Linked DNA regions of Homo sapiens: all the other regions are linked to region 1. The links are contacts of gene promoters, found by promoter capture Hi-C in blood cells and fetal thymus (Javierre and others, 2016). All regions are on one chromosome and are shown on one strand. The core of a region is centred on a gene start or on the middle of the fragment in contact, and the rest is flanking DNA. Distances in the headings are between cores, read along the strand shown. Region 1 holds the start of BBS9 (Bardet-Biedl syndrome 9). Region 2 has its middle 39 kb from the start of LINC00997. Region 3 overlaps KBTBD2 (kelch repeat and BTB domain containing 2).

The links. The method cuts DNA at HindIII sites, captures the fragments that hold promoters and counts their contacts. A CHiCAGO score of 5 or more calls a contact.
Region 2: a fragment that was not itself captured here is called in contact with the fragment with the promoter of BBS9 in region 1 in 2 of 17 cell types (neutrophils and M2 macrophages); the score reaches 9.6 in neutrophils.
Region 3: a contact is called between a fragment that was not itself captured here and the fragment with the promoter of BBS9 in region 1, in 8 of 17 cell types (neutrophils, activated CD4 T cells, total B cells and 5 more). The highest score is 8.8, in neutrophils.

What each region holds. Positions count from the first base shown.
Region 1 is chr7:33,126,586-33,131,632 of GRCh38, forward strand. BBS9 (Bardet-Biedl syndrome 9) reads left to right here and starts at 2,979. Exons shown (of 23, transcript NM_198428.3): 1 at 2,979-3,456. RefSeq lists enhancers at 2,392-2,441, 2,932-3,041 and a silencer at 2,582-2,881. The HindIII fragment of the contact is 9,509 bases long and covers 2,398-5,047 here.
Region 2 is chr7:32,794,668-32,799,714 of GRCh38, forward strand. No RefSeq gene overlaps it. Among named protein-coding and RNA genes, the nearest start is that of LINC00997, 39 kb to the left of the region's middle. The HindIII fragment of the contact is 4,579 bases long and covers 1-4,397 here.
Region 3 is chr7:32,869,311-32,874,357 of GRCh38, forward strand. It overlaps KBTBD2 (kelch repeat and BTB domain containing 2), which reads right to left. Exons shown (of 4, transcript NM_015483.3): 4 at 1-1,570. The coding sequence ends at 35. Among named protein-coding and RNA genes, the nearest start is that of KBTBD2, 20 kb to the right of the region's middle. The HindIII fragment of the contact is 180 bases long and covers 2,146-2,325 here.

The sequences.
Region 1 (5,047 bases), core at 1,729-4,228:
CCTGTGTTGCTTTTATTAGATTTGATTTTTTTTTAACCTGAAGTTTAAAATGGTTAAGATAGTTTTAATGTAATTATTTGTATGGCTTTTTAAGCCTTTTGATTATCACTCTGGTTATATAAATGACTTATTTCACAAGTAACTTGTGATTCTGTATTGATACAGTGTTTTGAGCCCTTTAAAAACTTCCTCAAAATCAAATTCCAATTTAAGTTTTTTAAATGTAGAATTAACTTTGGAATTTTCCAGTTGGACTCCTGGAAAGCATTAAAACATATCTTTCTCATCTTTTAGAGGTATTAAATGATTTGGGTTATTTGGTAAATTTTATAAGAAATATTGTCAAACGATAACTGATACTAGATTTTTCTTTTATTTGCATTTATGGGAATATTGTTTATATGAATGTTTGAAAAATTATATAAGTCCATACAAGTATGCTGGGAATGATGGCTCATGCCTATAATCCCAACACTTTGGGAGGCTGAGGTCAGAGGATTACTTATAGCCAGGAATTTGTGTCCAGCTTGGGCAACAAAACAAGACCCTGTCTCTATTAAAACAAAACAAAACAAAACAAAAACAAAAAAAACCAAAAAAAAACCAAGCATGGTGGTACAAACGTGTAGTCCCAGCTACTTGAGAGGCTGAGGCAGAAGGATTGCTTGAGTCCAGGAGTTTGAGATTGCAGTCAGCTATGAATGTGCCACTGCACTCTAGCCTGGGCAATAGAGCAAGACCCCATCTTTAAAAAAAATTCGTACAAATGTATTATATTACCAGTCATAATTCTGGTTATCTTAAAATACTGTATATAATAGCAATAAATAAATGTTCTTCTCAGTTGTTAACTTCATCAGATTTTTAACCATGGCTATTTTAAGTTTTTGTCATCCATATTATTGTTTTGAATTCTTTTTTAAAAAACAGACTCCTGGAAAATATTCTAACAAGTACTCTTTTATTTTTATTTATTTATTTTTGAGACAATCTTGCTCTGATGCCCAGGCTGGGGTGCAGTGGCACGATCCTGGTTCATTGCAACCTCTGCCTCCCTGGTTCCAGTGATTCTCATGCCTCAGCCTCCTGAGTAGCTGGGATTACAGGCATGCGCTACCACGCTGGGTTAATTTTTTGTATTTTTAGTAGAGATGGGGTTTCACTATATTGGCCAGGCTTTTCTCCAACTCCTGGCCTCAAATGATCCTCCCGCCTTGGCCTCCCAAATTGCTGGGATTACCGGCATGAACCATTGTGCCTGGCCCTAAAATATACTCTTAGATTTGGGTTTCTAACAACTTGAAGATCAATGGACAATATAACAATTTCCAGAACTGTAATAAAAAAGTGGGTTCATGAAACTATTAATCAAGATCAGGCAGAACAAGAATTAATTACGTGAGTTTAACTAATGAAGACAATGTTTTTATGATATTATTTCAAATGTTGTTGGTTCTTTACTCAAATAGTTTTTTCCAGATTTAAGAAAATCTTGTCTTTTAAGCTATTTATAATTTACAGCAATTTGATAGAGTATACTTGTGTAAAAAAAGATAAAAACTTTTTTTCTCTTTACTTGATTCCTCCATAATTAGAAAACCATTTGTGAGTCTTCTTATGGTAATATGGTCATTTCAATAAGTCTAATAAAAATCTGCTCTCTCTGTATAGCAGAATACAATTGGAAACTGGTTATATTACCAAGGCTTTGACTGAAAGGTCATTTTTAAAAATATTGAGGCCGGACGCGGTGGCTCACGCCAGCAATCCCAGCACTTTGGGGGACTGAGGTGGGTGGATCGTTTGAACCCAGGAGTTCGAGAGCAACCTGGACATGGCGAAACTCCATCTCTACAAAAAATACAAAAATTAGCCAGGTGTGGTGGTCTGTGCCTGTAGTCCCAGCTTACTAGGAAGGCTAAGGTGGGAGAATCGTTTGAGCCCGGGAGGCTGAGGCTTCAGTGCTTCAGTGAGCAGTGATCCTGTCACTGCACTCCAGTCTAGGCGACCCTGTCAGGGAGACCCAGTCTCAGTTAAAAAAAAAAAAAAAACCCAAAACCCAAAAAACTAAAACTAGAATGGTATTTTCTACTGGGAATGTGGATTTGTGGATTGATGGTGAAATACTGGAAATTTAAAGCCTACACTAGAATCCATTGAAAAAAGCAAACAAGAAAAACTTCAAGGTTGGCTACATTGAATTTGAATGTAAAGATTAAAAAAAAATAAGTAAAAAACAAAAGAAGACATAGATCCAATCCCATATACCAGGAAATGCACTCTAAGGTATATACGGAAAATATATTTAACACATGTGTATCAGGACGCAGGCACAAGTAACTTCAAAGCAGCGCTGTTTCAAATAGTAAAAAAAGGAAAAACTGGAAACTGTTCAAAAGCTTCATCATCTCGATGATCTTGGTCTTCCGCCTCGCCTTCTTCTCCAAGGTGAATATGTACTGGGCCAGCACCACCCCCGCCACCAGGGCGCACACGCTGGCGCTCGCTACCGCGACCACCCTCGCCACGGTCGCGCGGTGCATGGACGGGGCCCTCATGAGTGTCCCGGCAGGAAAAAAACACCGCGATTGGGACTCTCAGAAGCGCAGGATCCCAGAGCACCATGGACAAGCCAGTGACGCCCCGCCCCCACTAGGCCCCACCCACACGCACCGAGGGGAGAGGGCGGTCACGCGGCCGGGGGGGCGTGGCCTGCCCCCGGAGCCCAGGCAGGAGGAGGGTCTTCCTTAAGGAACTGCTGCCAGGACAGGGCAGAGGATTGCAGTAATTATCACTCTCTGCTAATGAGGACCAGGCCGTGGTTCACTCGAGCCCCGCCCCAGTAGCAATCTAATTCCAACCGCGGCCCTCTCAGAAGTCGGTCCCCGCCTTTGCGCCTCAGCCTCTCTGGACTCCAGCCCCCAGAAGTCGGCGCGGCACGGCGTGACCTGCGCAGTGGCGTCCGTTGTAAGTGCTATGACAACAGGGCGAAGATGGCTCAGAGTTAGGCTGGAGAGGGGAGGTGTCCCTTCCGCTGCGGCCGTCGGGTTTCTGCTACATCCCATTCACCGCCTCCTCCATCCTTTCCTCCTCGGTGTGAGCAGCAGGACTTGCATTTGTTCTCGCCTGCCTAGTGTCTTCCAAGGGATAGATGCCGTTTCCTCTGCTGGTCTCTGGGGGTGACGGGGGGCGCAGGGGAGCTTCTTGGGGGAATCACTCCAACTCTGTGGAGCTGGTGGTGCTGCCTGGTGGGGCTCTCTCTTTGCCCGGGACGTGGAACAACTTTCAGCTGGAGGACGAGAGGGAATAGTGAAGCTAAAGGTTGCTTTTCTCTGCACCGTCCGTTCTTGCTCCCTCTGCTCCATCACTGGGACCTTGTCAGGCGTTCATAAAGCAAAATTTGCCGAACGAGGGTTCGCAGAAAGGTGGGGCAGAGCTCATCTGACGTGGCATCAGGTAAGATGGTATGTCTGTTGTTAAACTTCGGGTACATGAATACCCTTTCCATGTTTTATTTTGTGAACAAGATTCTCTAATGCAGTATAATGGTTTGGAGTCTGTAAGGTGATTGATTTCTTAGATGTTTGCACTGAAATAAACAAACACTAGGAGCACAAAGTGTATGAGATTCTGTGAGTACTTTTGAGAAAAAAGGGATGAGAATTTTTAAGGATTCCATTGAGGAATGTCACTTGGAGCATGAGCATCCTCCTGAGACACTTCAACAGGTCTGTGAGTAAATGGGCAAAGCAGTTCCCAGCCTACGACTGAAGTAGGATGCATGTACTAATACCCCCAATCCTTCTAGTAATAGGATTATTGTTTCTCCTCTTGTTACTTGGAGACCACAACAGTTTAGATGAGCTGCGCTGATTTTATCAGCACCTCCTGCCAGTCAAATCCTGCCTTTGACTTCAATTTCCTGGAGAAATGTATTTTTTTGGGTATCTCACTTTTACTTTAAAAATGAAACCGTATCTTACAGGTATACACATCTTACATGTCCTCATTGATAAACAACTTGAAAGATGCTGCAGGATAAGCTATGGGTCTTAAGTTGGCCAGCATTCAGAGAAAGATTTTCTAACTTATTAGCATTTTATAAAGAAAACAATTACTGAGATTTTTTTCATGAATATACGGAAGAATTAAAAAAAAAACTAGAAAACCCAGAAGTTTTTAAAGAAGAATTTTAAAAAACTTTATTTTGAAAATAAGTTACAAGTTATTTGTCAGAGTTTAAGGGATTTTTCCTTGTGTGTAATTGTCGTGGTTAAATTACAACTATACACTTATATTTATGGTACAACTTCTTGATAGAAATGCTCACTGAAGGGAAAAAATCCAACAGCAATAGTATATATAGTAATTTTAAAACTTTTACACCTTTTGAGGGATGTAGTAAGTCTTACGCTTTAGAATACTTTGAAATATTTTTGAAAATTATTAAAATACATGAAATTATTATAAAACATCCCTGCTGGTTAATAACATTTCCATTAGTGATTACTATCAGTCTTTGTGAGTCCCATTTAAAATTTCGGTCCAGAGGGTGAGTTTGGCATTCGTAATTGTGTCTTGCACAGAACACACTACCACCGTCTCTTTCAACTACCACTACTACCACTGTCTCTCCTACTAGCACTGTTTCTACTGTTGGGTTATTACTGACATCTATTGAGTACTTGCTATGGGTTGAGCCATTTTATCCTCCTCCACCCTAGAACAATTGAGATACTAGAGGATAAGGGACTTGTTTAAGATCATGTAGTGTAACGTGGTCAGAAAGTGCACCCAGAGCTGTCCTACTCCAAATTTTGTGTTATTTTGCCCTTTGAGTCTTTTGTTGAAAATTCCAACAGTGAGCCCTTGTATTATTGCCTTCAAAAGCAGTATACTTCTTTTGAACACTACATGCATTTGTCATCTTTCTTTGACTGGAAGACCTGATTTCTACTTTCTTAAATTTGGTGTGACACTGGCATAACCTGGAGAAAGCAAAGCTCTGAAAATGAACAACAGCTGCAAGGTCTGTTTCCAGAACTGA
Region 2 (5,047 bases), core at 858-3,357, 330 kb before region 1:
TTCTGCTTTGAATATCTTCTATTAGACACCAGCCTTTGCCCTAGGCATATATGAATATCCTGGGCCTTGAGGGGCTAGTAGTCCAATAAGGGAGAAGGCATATAAAAATATAACTTCAATATGATATGGTGGTGCCACCAAGATGGAAATGGGAGCAAGGCATCTTGGAATTCTTCCTGCAGGAAAGAAAACCTGAGAGGAGATTTGAATCTTAACAAAGAACTTGGCATGCAAATAAATGTAAGAAAGATATTCCCAACTGTTACGGGTTGAATTGCGTCTCCAAAAAGATATGCCAAAATCCTAACCCCGGTACCTGAGAATGTGACCTTATTTGGAAATAGGGTCTTTGCAGATGTAATCAAGTTATGATAAAGTCATTAGGGTGCACCTTAATCCAATATGACTGGTGTCCTTATAAGAGGGAAAGAGTCACAGAGACTCACACAGAGAGGAGAATGCCATGTGTAGACACAGACATACAGGGAGTCTCATTCTGTCACCCAGGCTGGAGTGCAGTGGCATGATCTCAGCTCACTGCAGCCTTCACCTCCCTGATCAAGCGATTCTCCTGTTCCAGCCTCCCCATTAGCTGGGGTTACAGGTGCCCGCCACCGTGCCCAGCTAATTTTCCTATTTTTAGTAGAGACAGGTCTCACCATGTTGGCCAGGCTGGTCTCAAACTCCTGACTTCAAGTGATCTGCCTGCCTCAGCCTCCCAAAGTGCTGGGATTACAGGCGTGAGCCTCTGCACCTGGCGCCAAACTTTAACTTTTTTTTTTTTTTTGAGATGGAGTCTCTGTCGCCCAGGCTGGAATGCAGCGGTGTGATCTCGGCTCACTACAACCTCCGCCTCTTGGGTTCAAACAGTTCTCTGCCTCAGCCTCCCCATTAGCTGGGATTACAGGTGCCTGCCACCATGCCCAGCTAATTTTTTGTATTTTTAGTAGAGACAGGGCTTCACTATCTTGGCCAGGCTGGTCTTGAACTCCTGACCTTGTGATCCACCCGCCTCAGCCTCCCAAAGTGCTGGGATTACAGGCATGAGCCACCGTGTCCGGCCTGCCAAACCTTAACTTTTTTTTTTTTTTTTTTGAGACTGAGTTTCACTCTTGTTGCCCAGGCTGGAGTGCAATGGCGCAATCTCGGCTCACTGCAACCTCCGCCTCCCGGGTCCAAGCGATTCTTCTGCCTTAGCCTCTCGAGTCGCTGGGATTACAGGCATGCACCACCATGCCCGGCTAATTTTGTATTTTTAGTAGAGATAAGGTTTCTCCATGTTGGTCAGGCTGGTCTTGAACTCCCAACCTCAGGTGATCCACTCGCCTTGGCCTCCCAAAGTGCTGGGATTACAGGTGTGAGCCACCGCGCCCAGCCACCAAACCTTAACTTTTAAACGATCATTCCTAGCTGATTTTTATGCAGCCTGCTCATTTCTTCAATATCTTTAACCTCTCTAAAGGAAAAACAGCCAAACCATTTTAAAAACAAAGATCTTTCTCGCCTCAACTCTTTCCCTCTTCTCCCCTTCACAAACCTTGTTCCATGCCTTGTCTTCCGATGAACCACAATTCTCCACTGAACCGAGGTGAGAGTGATTTGTGCAACTATCACTCCACTGAAGTTGAAACTTCAATCTTTTTAAAGTTCAGAGGCTACTTGTCTCATTGACACATGATAGTAATCCACACTGAACACTTTGTGTGAAACACTCTGAACTGGACTTCTGATGTTATGCTTCCCTGGTTTTCTTCCTATCTTGGGATTTTCTCAGCCTCTTGCTGATCTCACCTCTAACCATCTCAGATCTTGGCCTTCCTCTATTCATACATGCCGTAGGCAGTCTTGTTCATTACAGTGAATCACCGCCCAGACCATTACCTGAGAGTCTGCCTTGGATATCCACCTTGGATATCTCAAAGGTCTCAAATTTAACATGTCTGAAGAACCTCTGGCTCTTATCTACCCCACACCTGCCTGTGGTTCAGGTTCAGTAAGTGGCACCATCCCCCACTGGCTTTCTAAGGTAGAAACTTGAAAGTCAACTTCGACTCTTCCCTCTTCCTCACCTCCATGAATTCTGTCCGTCACAAGGCCTGGTAGGTTCTCAAATCTCTTGAATTCATCCTCACTTCTAACACATGAATCGAGCCCCTATCATCTGTCACCTGGAGAATTTAATAAATTTCTAAGTGATCCGTTTTTCAAAATTAACTGCATTATCGAGCTATAATTCACATTCCATACATTTCACCCATTTAACATGTACAATCCATTGATCTTTAGAGTATTCACAGAGTTGTGCACCTATCAATCCATTGTGTAACATTTTCATGACCCCCAAAACCCCATACCACTCTCCGTTCCCTCCCCAGATGATCTCTTTGGTGCAGTTCTTTGCTCACATTTTCTCCACACTGCAATCAGATATTTTTCAATACAATTTTAATGTCATGCTTTTGTTTAGAACATTTATTACCCTTGAAATAAAATCCAGGTTATTTTCTGATTTATAAGGCCTTTTGAATCTGGTCTTTGCTTGCTTTTCTGGACTAATTTCCTTCTTCACAATTTACAAACTGACCAAATTGAATGTTTTAGTTACTTTAATGGGCCTTCTTTTCATACAGTTTTTTCTGCCTTAAGCACCATTCCCCATGGACTGGTTAAATCTTAGGTAACCATACATCCTAGTTTATGCTTGTTTTCACTATCACTCTCAAAAGTGTGCCTGTTTGGATGGTAAATGATATGGTAACCCTGGTTAAGTTCAATTTACACCTCATGTAACTTCCTCCAGGAGGCTTTAACAAAAATTCTATCTTGGTTCCTTTTGTTTAAATTTCAAATGCACCTCATATTACTTAACACCCAACTGTATTAGTCATTTTGATTGTCTTCACTGCTGTGAGGGCAAGGGCTTGTGTCTACCCTATTTATCTCTTTATCTTCAACACCTAAAAGTGTGTGGCACATAACAAGCACAGAACTGAACAAAACCTATGTAAAGGAGTGTATAGGTCATGAAGAAAAATTTAATTTCAGTAAAGTCATTCAGGCAACTATTTTGGAATTCTAATTAGTACTGAAATGTCTCTGACACCATGGAGAAAGGATTTGTCAAATAACCATCAAATGAGTTGGAATTAAAAAAAAAAAAAAACTTCCCAACATATAAAAATGATATAAACAAGTAGAGTTTATCTCATAAATAAAAGATTGCTTTAATATCAGAAAATCACATACCATACTAACAGAATAAAGGACAAAAACCATAGGACTGTGCCAATAGATACTGATATGGTTTGGCTCTGTGTCCCCACCAAAATCGCATGTGGAATTTTTTTTTATATATATATACAGAGTCTTGCTCTGTCACCAGGCTGGAGTGCAGTGGGGTGATGTCGGCTCACTGCACCCTCCGCCTCCCGGGTTCAAGCTATTGTCCTGCCTCAGCCTCCCTAGTAGCTGGGACTACAGGCGTGCGCCACCACGCCTGTGCACCTGGATAATTTTTTGTATTTTAGTAGAAACAGGGTTTCACCATGTTGGTCAGGCTGGTCTCCAACTCCCGATCTCAGGTGATTCGCTCGCCTCGGCCTCCCAAAGTGCTGGGATTACCGGCATGAGCCACTGCGCCCGGCCTCATGTGGAATTTTTAGTCCGCACATGTTAGGGTAGGGAACTGGTGGGAGGTGACTGGATCATGGGGGCAGTTCTCCATGCTGTTCTTGTGATAGTGAGTTCTCACTAGATATGATGGTTTAAAAGTGTGGCACATCCCCCTTTGCACTTGCTCTCTCTCTCTCTCCTTCTCTCCTTTGTCTCTCTCCTCTCTCTCTTCTCTCTCTCTCGTCGCCATGTAAGATATGGCTTGTTTCTCCTTTGCCTTCTGCCATAATTGTAAGTTTCCTGAGGCCTCTCCAGCCATGTGGAACTGTGAGTCAATTAAACATCTTTTCTTTATAAACTGCCCACTCTCAGGTAGCTCTTAATAGCAGTGTGAAAATGGACTAATACATAGAAAAATTATTTGACAAATTAGAGGACCCATTTATGATTAAAACTCACCAAATTAGGAAGAGAAAGAAACTTCCTCAACCTGATGAGGAACATCTATGAAAAATCTACAGCTAATATGTATAATAGTGAAAGATGGAAAACTTTCCCCCTACCATCAGGAGCTAAACAAAGATGTCAGCTTTCACCACCTCTATTCACAATTGTACTGGAAGTCCTAACTGAGGCAATAAGACAAGGAAAAGAAAAAATTTAACCCTCAATAGTTTAAGGAAAAATGAAAAGGCATATGGCTTTGAAGGAGTCTCAAAAAACAAAACAAAAACTCTAGAAATAATAACGTAGCCGGATTACAAGATAAAGACCAATATAAGCCAAGCTTGGTGGCTCATGCCTGCAGTCCCAGCTACTGAGGTGGCTGACGTGGGAGGGTCACTTAAGCCCTGTAGTTCAAGGCTAGCCTGGGCAACAGAGCAAGACCTCATCTCTGAAAAAAAAAAAAAAAGTCAATAAACAACTGCATTGTATGTACTATCAACTATTAAAAAACATTTTTTTTTTGAGGTAAGGTCTCACTCTGTCACCCAAGCTGGAGTGCAGTGGTGCCATCATGGTTAACTGCAGCCTCAACCTCCCAGTCTCAATCAGTCCTCCCACTGCAGCCTCCTGAGTACCTGAGACTGCAGGCACAAGCTACCATGCCCGGCTAATTTTCATATTTTTTGTAGAGATGGGGTTTTGTCATGTTGCCCAGGCTGGTCTCAAACTCCTGGGCTCAAGCAATTTGCCCACTTTGATCTCCCAAAGGGCTGGGATTATGTTACTGTGCCCAGCCATAAAAAAATTAACAGTGTCATTAAAGAAAACCATTTAGCAATAAATTCAACAAGAGATGTATAAGAACTGTACACTATATAACATTGCTGAGAGAGATTTAAAAAGATCTGAAGAGAGAAATATACCATGTTCATAGTTTGGAGGAGTTGATATTGGTAAGTTGGTAATTCTCTCCAAATTGGTCTGCAGA
Region 3 (5,047 bases), core at 986-3,485, 260 kb before region 1:
CATAACTCAGGCGTGCACTCCCTGAACTTCCCCACTATACAGGTGGTAGTGCAACCATTTCTCCATCCAGTTCAAACTCTTCTGTCCCATCCGTTGAAAAAAGATAAGTTGGTGGTTTCCATGGAGACTCTTCAAGGCAGGATGGATAGAGTTTCCCCACAGTGCATCGAAAATCTCTCCCCAAGTCCCACAGTACACGTTCAGATATATGCTGCCGCAGAGACCACCGGTCAAGTTCCAGGTCATATTGGTAGGTGACGTATTTAGCTCGCTCATTTAAGTGGGTTTCTCGCATAAACACACATAGAGAATTTGAGATCACAACAGCTCTAACACAGGGGTCAGAGTACCTCTTAGCAGGGATGTTGGCTGCCATTTTCCACTCATTTTTATTCACATCATAAATTTCCACAGTTACTGAAGACCCATCTACAGTGCCAGAGGGGAGTCTTATGCCGGAATTGGTAGCAATATGCAACCCTCCAATATAGAAAATTTTATCACCAAAAGCTGCAGCTGAAGCAAAGGACCTACTAGTCTGTCTCATGGCCATTTCTACCCATGAGTCAGACCTTGGAAAATAACAGTACATGAGGTTCAGTGTCATCACATAAATGCAGTCATGAACCACAACTGCTGCACTCCATTGCCAAGCACAAGGTAAAGGGCTTACCATCGTCCACTCATCTTTCTCAGTGTCGTATCTTTCTACGGTCCTCCGATTAAGTTCTCCACCTACGCTATCTCCTCCAATTGCATAGATATAGCCTTCACAGCAAACCAAAGATGGCTTTATGCGGACAAAAAGCATTGGGGTCTTTGGAAACCAGGTATTTTGCTGTGCATCAAACCAATAAAAGCAATTCACAGTTCTGAAGGCAGTCTGAAGTTTGCTTGTTTTACTGTGATTTGTTTTTGTGTTTTTCAGAGGAACTTGACCCCCTGCTATGTAGATATCATTATCAGGAGTTACAACGGTCCCAACCTTATGCAAATCAGCTGGTGGGCTACATAACTTGTAAACTTTTTCTGCTTGGGGGCTGTAACAGACAGAAGAGTAAAGACTACAAGGATTTTCTGAAGATGCTTCAATGAAAATCATCATTTCCTCTTTAGTCATCCCAAGTCTTGGTTTGAAAAACTTGGGCATGGACTTATACAGACCTTGAACCACCACTGACTTATCATTGGGTGGCAGACCTTGAAACCAAGCTCTCTGTGTTACTTCTGAAAGTGCATCAATTCTGATTTGGCTAAGAACAGAAGACAAATACTGGGATCGTGATTCTGTGTTATACTCTAGCCACAGCATAGCAGCTTCTCGAACGGTTTCTTCCTTTTCTACATTTAAATTGTCACTACTGAGAATATCTATCAGTAGGTCATGTGACAGCTGCATGAACGCGTCCTGATGATACACAGCAGTGAACTTGTGCTCCACCATTCTTTTAGCACTCTGTTTTAATTCCTCACAACTGAAGAGATCAGCAAAACTCAACAATCGTACACAATTCTCTGCATTTATTTTTTTAATTAAATATTCTCGACAACGTTGTAACACATCTTCTACCTAGAATGAGAAGGAAAAAAAAAACAGGCTGATAGGGCCAGGACAGACACATTTTACTTTTATGTAAGACGTAAGTATATTAATCAGATGCCCATAGTGTAATTTTTATTTTCAGATACACACATCTGGGCTGAGATAAGGTCTTCTGGTAGTAATAAACTCAGAAGACTATAAAATTTTGCAGTATTTTTTCCTGCTCAGTGGCCTACTTAACTGTTCTATTTAGGAACCAGCAGTACAACAATAAATAGGCTCTTAAAAAACAAAACAGCCTTAAAGAATAGGTAAGGAAATTCACACATAAGTCATACTTTCCTAGACTTTATATATAATTGAGAGAACTATATGAAAAAATGTAAATAAATCATAGTATAGAGAAAATTATTGTTGTTGAATAACTGGATTCTGGTTTCCTCAATTTGAACACAGTCACATAAAACCAGAAAATCATGCACAATGAGTAAGAGTAGTTATTTGCCATTCTTATCGAGAGGTAAGATAACAAAGCAACACGAAATAGACTTACGTGCAGTTATAAATCACCTACATTTAAATGACCCATCTTAGCCACTGTAAGCTTCCTAGATTTGTTTTTTCTTAAGAAGGTAGATCTCAGTTGAATCAGATGTGCTACCCACTATACTTATTCAGCATCACAGTGATTAACTAGAAACTGTTTACACTGACAAGTCAGGTTGCTTGGATTTAAAACTTAATTGGCCAATTAGTACCTGGAAACTACTTATTAGGAAAGAAGCTTCACATCTCTAAACTTCAATTTTCTCTTATATAAAATGGGGAAATAATAGTTATCTCCCTCAAATGAGCCCTGTAAGGATCAGATGAGAATATATATAAAGTATCAGTACACCATCTGGTACTGAAACATATGATCACTTCATGTGGTTGATAGTGAAAGTAATATTGGTAGTCATAGAATGCCCCATCTCAGGCTTCCAGGGCAACACAGTCTAAGAGGCAGAGTCCTGTTTTGCATTTGAGCAAGCAGAAGTAGTATACGGTTTTCGTTAAAATGGCAGAAAAAAAATGTTAAGGAGCAGTGTCAATATTTACAGTAACAAAGTATTCTGGAATCAGATTTTCTTAAAATTCCTTAATGCCTTAGTAATTCTGAGAAATGCCTGCTTTTAAAAGAAGGACCAACAAAAAATTAGCTGGATGTGCTGGTGCATGCCTATAATCCCAGCACTTTGGGATTACAGGGAGGAGGATTACTTGAGCCCAGCAATTTGAGACTGCAGTGAGCTATCACCATGCCACTGCATGGTGGCATGCCACTGCATTCCAGCCTGGGCAACAGAACAAGACATGTCTCTAAAAATAAAAAGTAATGACAACTTGCAAACTATATAAAGACAGTGCTTCCAATAAGCATTTCTCCCGTTCAAGTTTGGAATTACTAGTGCACCAGCAAGCTACCCCAGCCTCAGTTTCCCCAGAGTTGTGGGTAGAGTAGAACACTAACGATAAAGTTAGTGTAATAAGGAGTAAAGGTTGGCCAGGTGTTGTAACTCGCACCTGTAATCCTAGCACTTTGGGAGGCCTAGGTGAGAGGAGTGCCTGAGCTCAAGAGTTTGAGACTAGCCTGGGCAACATAAGATCTTGTCTCTACAAAAAAATCAAATAATTAGCCAAGTGTGGTGATGCATGTCTACAGACCCAGCTACTCAGGAGGCTAAGGCTGGGGGATGACTTGAGCCCAGATCGAGGCTGCAGTGAGCTGTGATCTCACCACTGTGCTGCAGCCTGGACAACAGAGCAAGACCCTGTCACACAAAAAGTTGAGTATCCCTAATTCAAAAATTCAAAATCCAAAATGCTCCAAAAACTGAAATGTTTTGAGTGCTGACATGACACTTGAAATACTCACGGGAGCACTTCAGAGTCTAGATTTTTAGATTAGGGATGATGTAAATCTAACATATAATGCAAATATCCTAAAATCTGAAAAAATCTGAAACTGGCTGAACTGGATTTCTGGTCCCAATCATTTTGGATAAAGGGTACTCAACCTATGGAAGATTAAAAAGGAAGGAGACTACATAAAGCATGAACTGAGTTCTGGTTTCCAGAATTATACCCAGGTGTTGGCATTCAACCAGTGTCATGCATACTCATTCAGTGCATATTTATTAAGTACTTAACAAATATCACGAACAGTGCTCTCCAAATTTAACCTTTGATCTAAAGGTTCTCCCTCTGAAGAAACTTAGTGAAATACAGTGTTATTCCAAAACAGGAGATGAAATGAAGAAAAAAACTCTTATATTCCTCTTAAAATTTAAAAAGGGAACATGATGGGGAAATAAAGAGTAAAACAGTTTGTCATACATAAATATATCAACCATCACTTGTTTTGTTTAAATACTTCTCCTTAATTGCTCAATATGGTCACATAGCCATTATAAATATTTATCATAATTTCCACCAAGTTTTCTGTGAAAAATAGTACCATGAAAAATTAGTATATCTAAGCTCTAAGCAAAAAAAAAAAAAAAAAAAATTGAAACACTTAAATTCAATAAACACTGTTAAAAATTACTTTAATTTGGCTGGGAGTGGTGGCTCATGCCTGTAATCCCAGCACTTTGGGAGGCCAAGGCGGGTGGATCATTTGATGGCAGGAGTTCCAGACCGGCCTGGCCAATGTGGTGAAACCCCACCTCAACTAAAAATACAAAAATTAGCTGGGCATGGTGGTACATGCCTGTAATCCCAGCTATTCAGGAGGCTGAGGCAGGAGAATCACTTGAACCCAGGAGGCAGAGGTTGTTGTGAGCCAAGATTGTGCCAGTGCACTCCAGCCTGGGCAACAAGAGTGAAATTCCGTCTCAAAAAAAAATTACTTTAACTTGAAATCAAAATTCTCAGGTATATTAGGTAGTAAAACACACGAAACCAGTATAAAATTTTCACCTATCTCTTTTATTAACAGATTTACATTCCCATCACAAAACTACTTAGTTTACTGGGTAATCAAATCCTATTGTTTTTCCCTTACACATTTTGTAAAAAGAAAAAAACCTTTTACCTTCTAAAACACGTAATAAGAAAATTACATAGATAAAAGACATTACTGGGCCAGGCATGGTGGTTCATACCTGTAATCCCAGGGCTTTGAGAAGCCAATGCAGGAGGATTGCTTGAGCCTGGGATTTTGAGACCAGCCTGGGCAACACAGTGAGATCGTGTCTCTACAAAAAATAAAAATATTGGCCCAGGGAGTGGTGGCTCATGCCTGTAATCCCAGCACTTTGGGAGGCCAAGGTGGGTGGATCACGAGGTCAGGAGATCGAGACCATTCTGGCTAACAACGGTGAAACCCCATCTCTACTAAAAATACAAAAAATTAGCCGGGGGTGGTGGTAGGCACCTGTAGTCCCAGCTACTCGGGAGGCTGAGGCAGGAGAATGGCATGAACCCAGAGGCGGAGCTTGCATCTGAGCTGAGATCGCG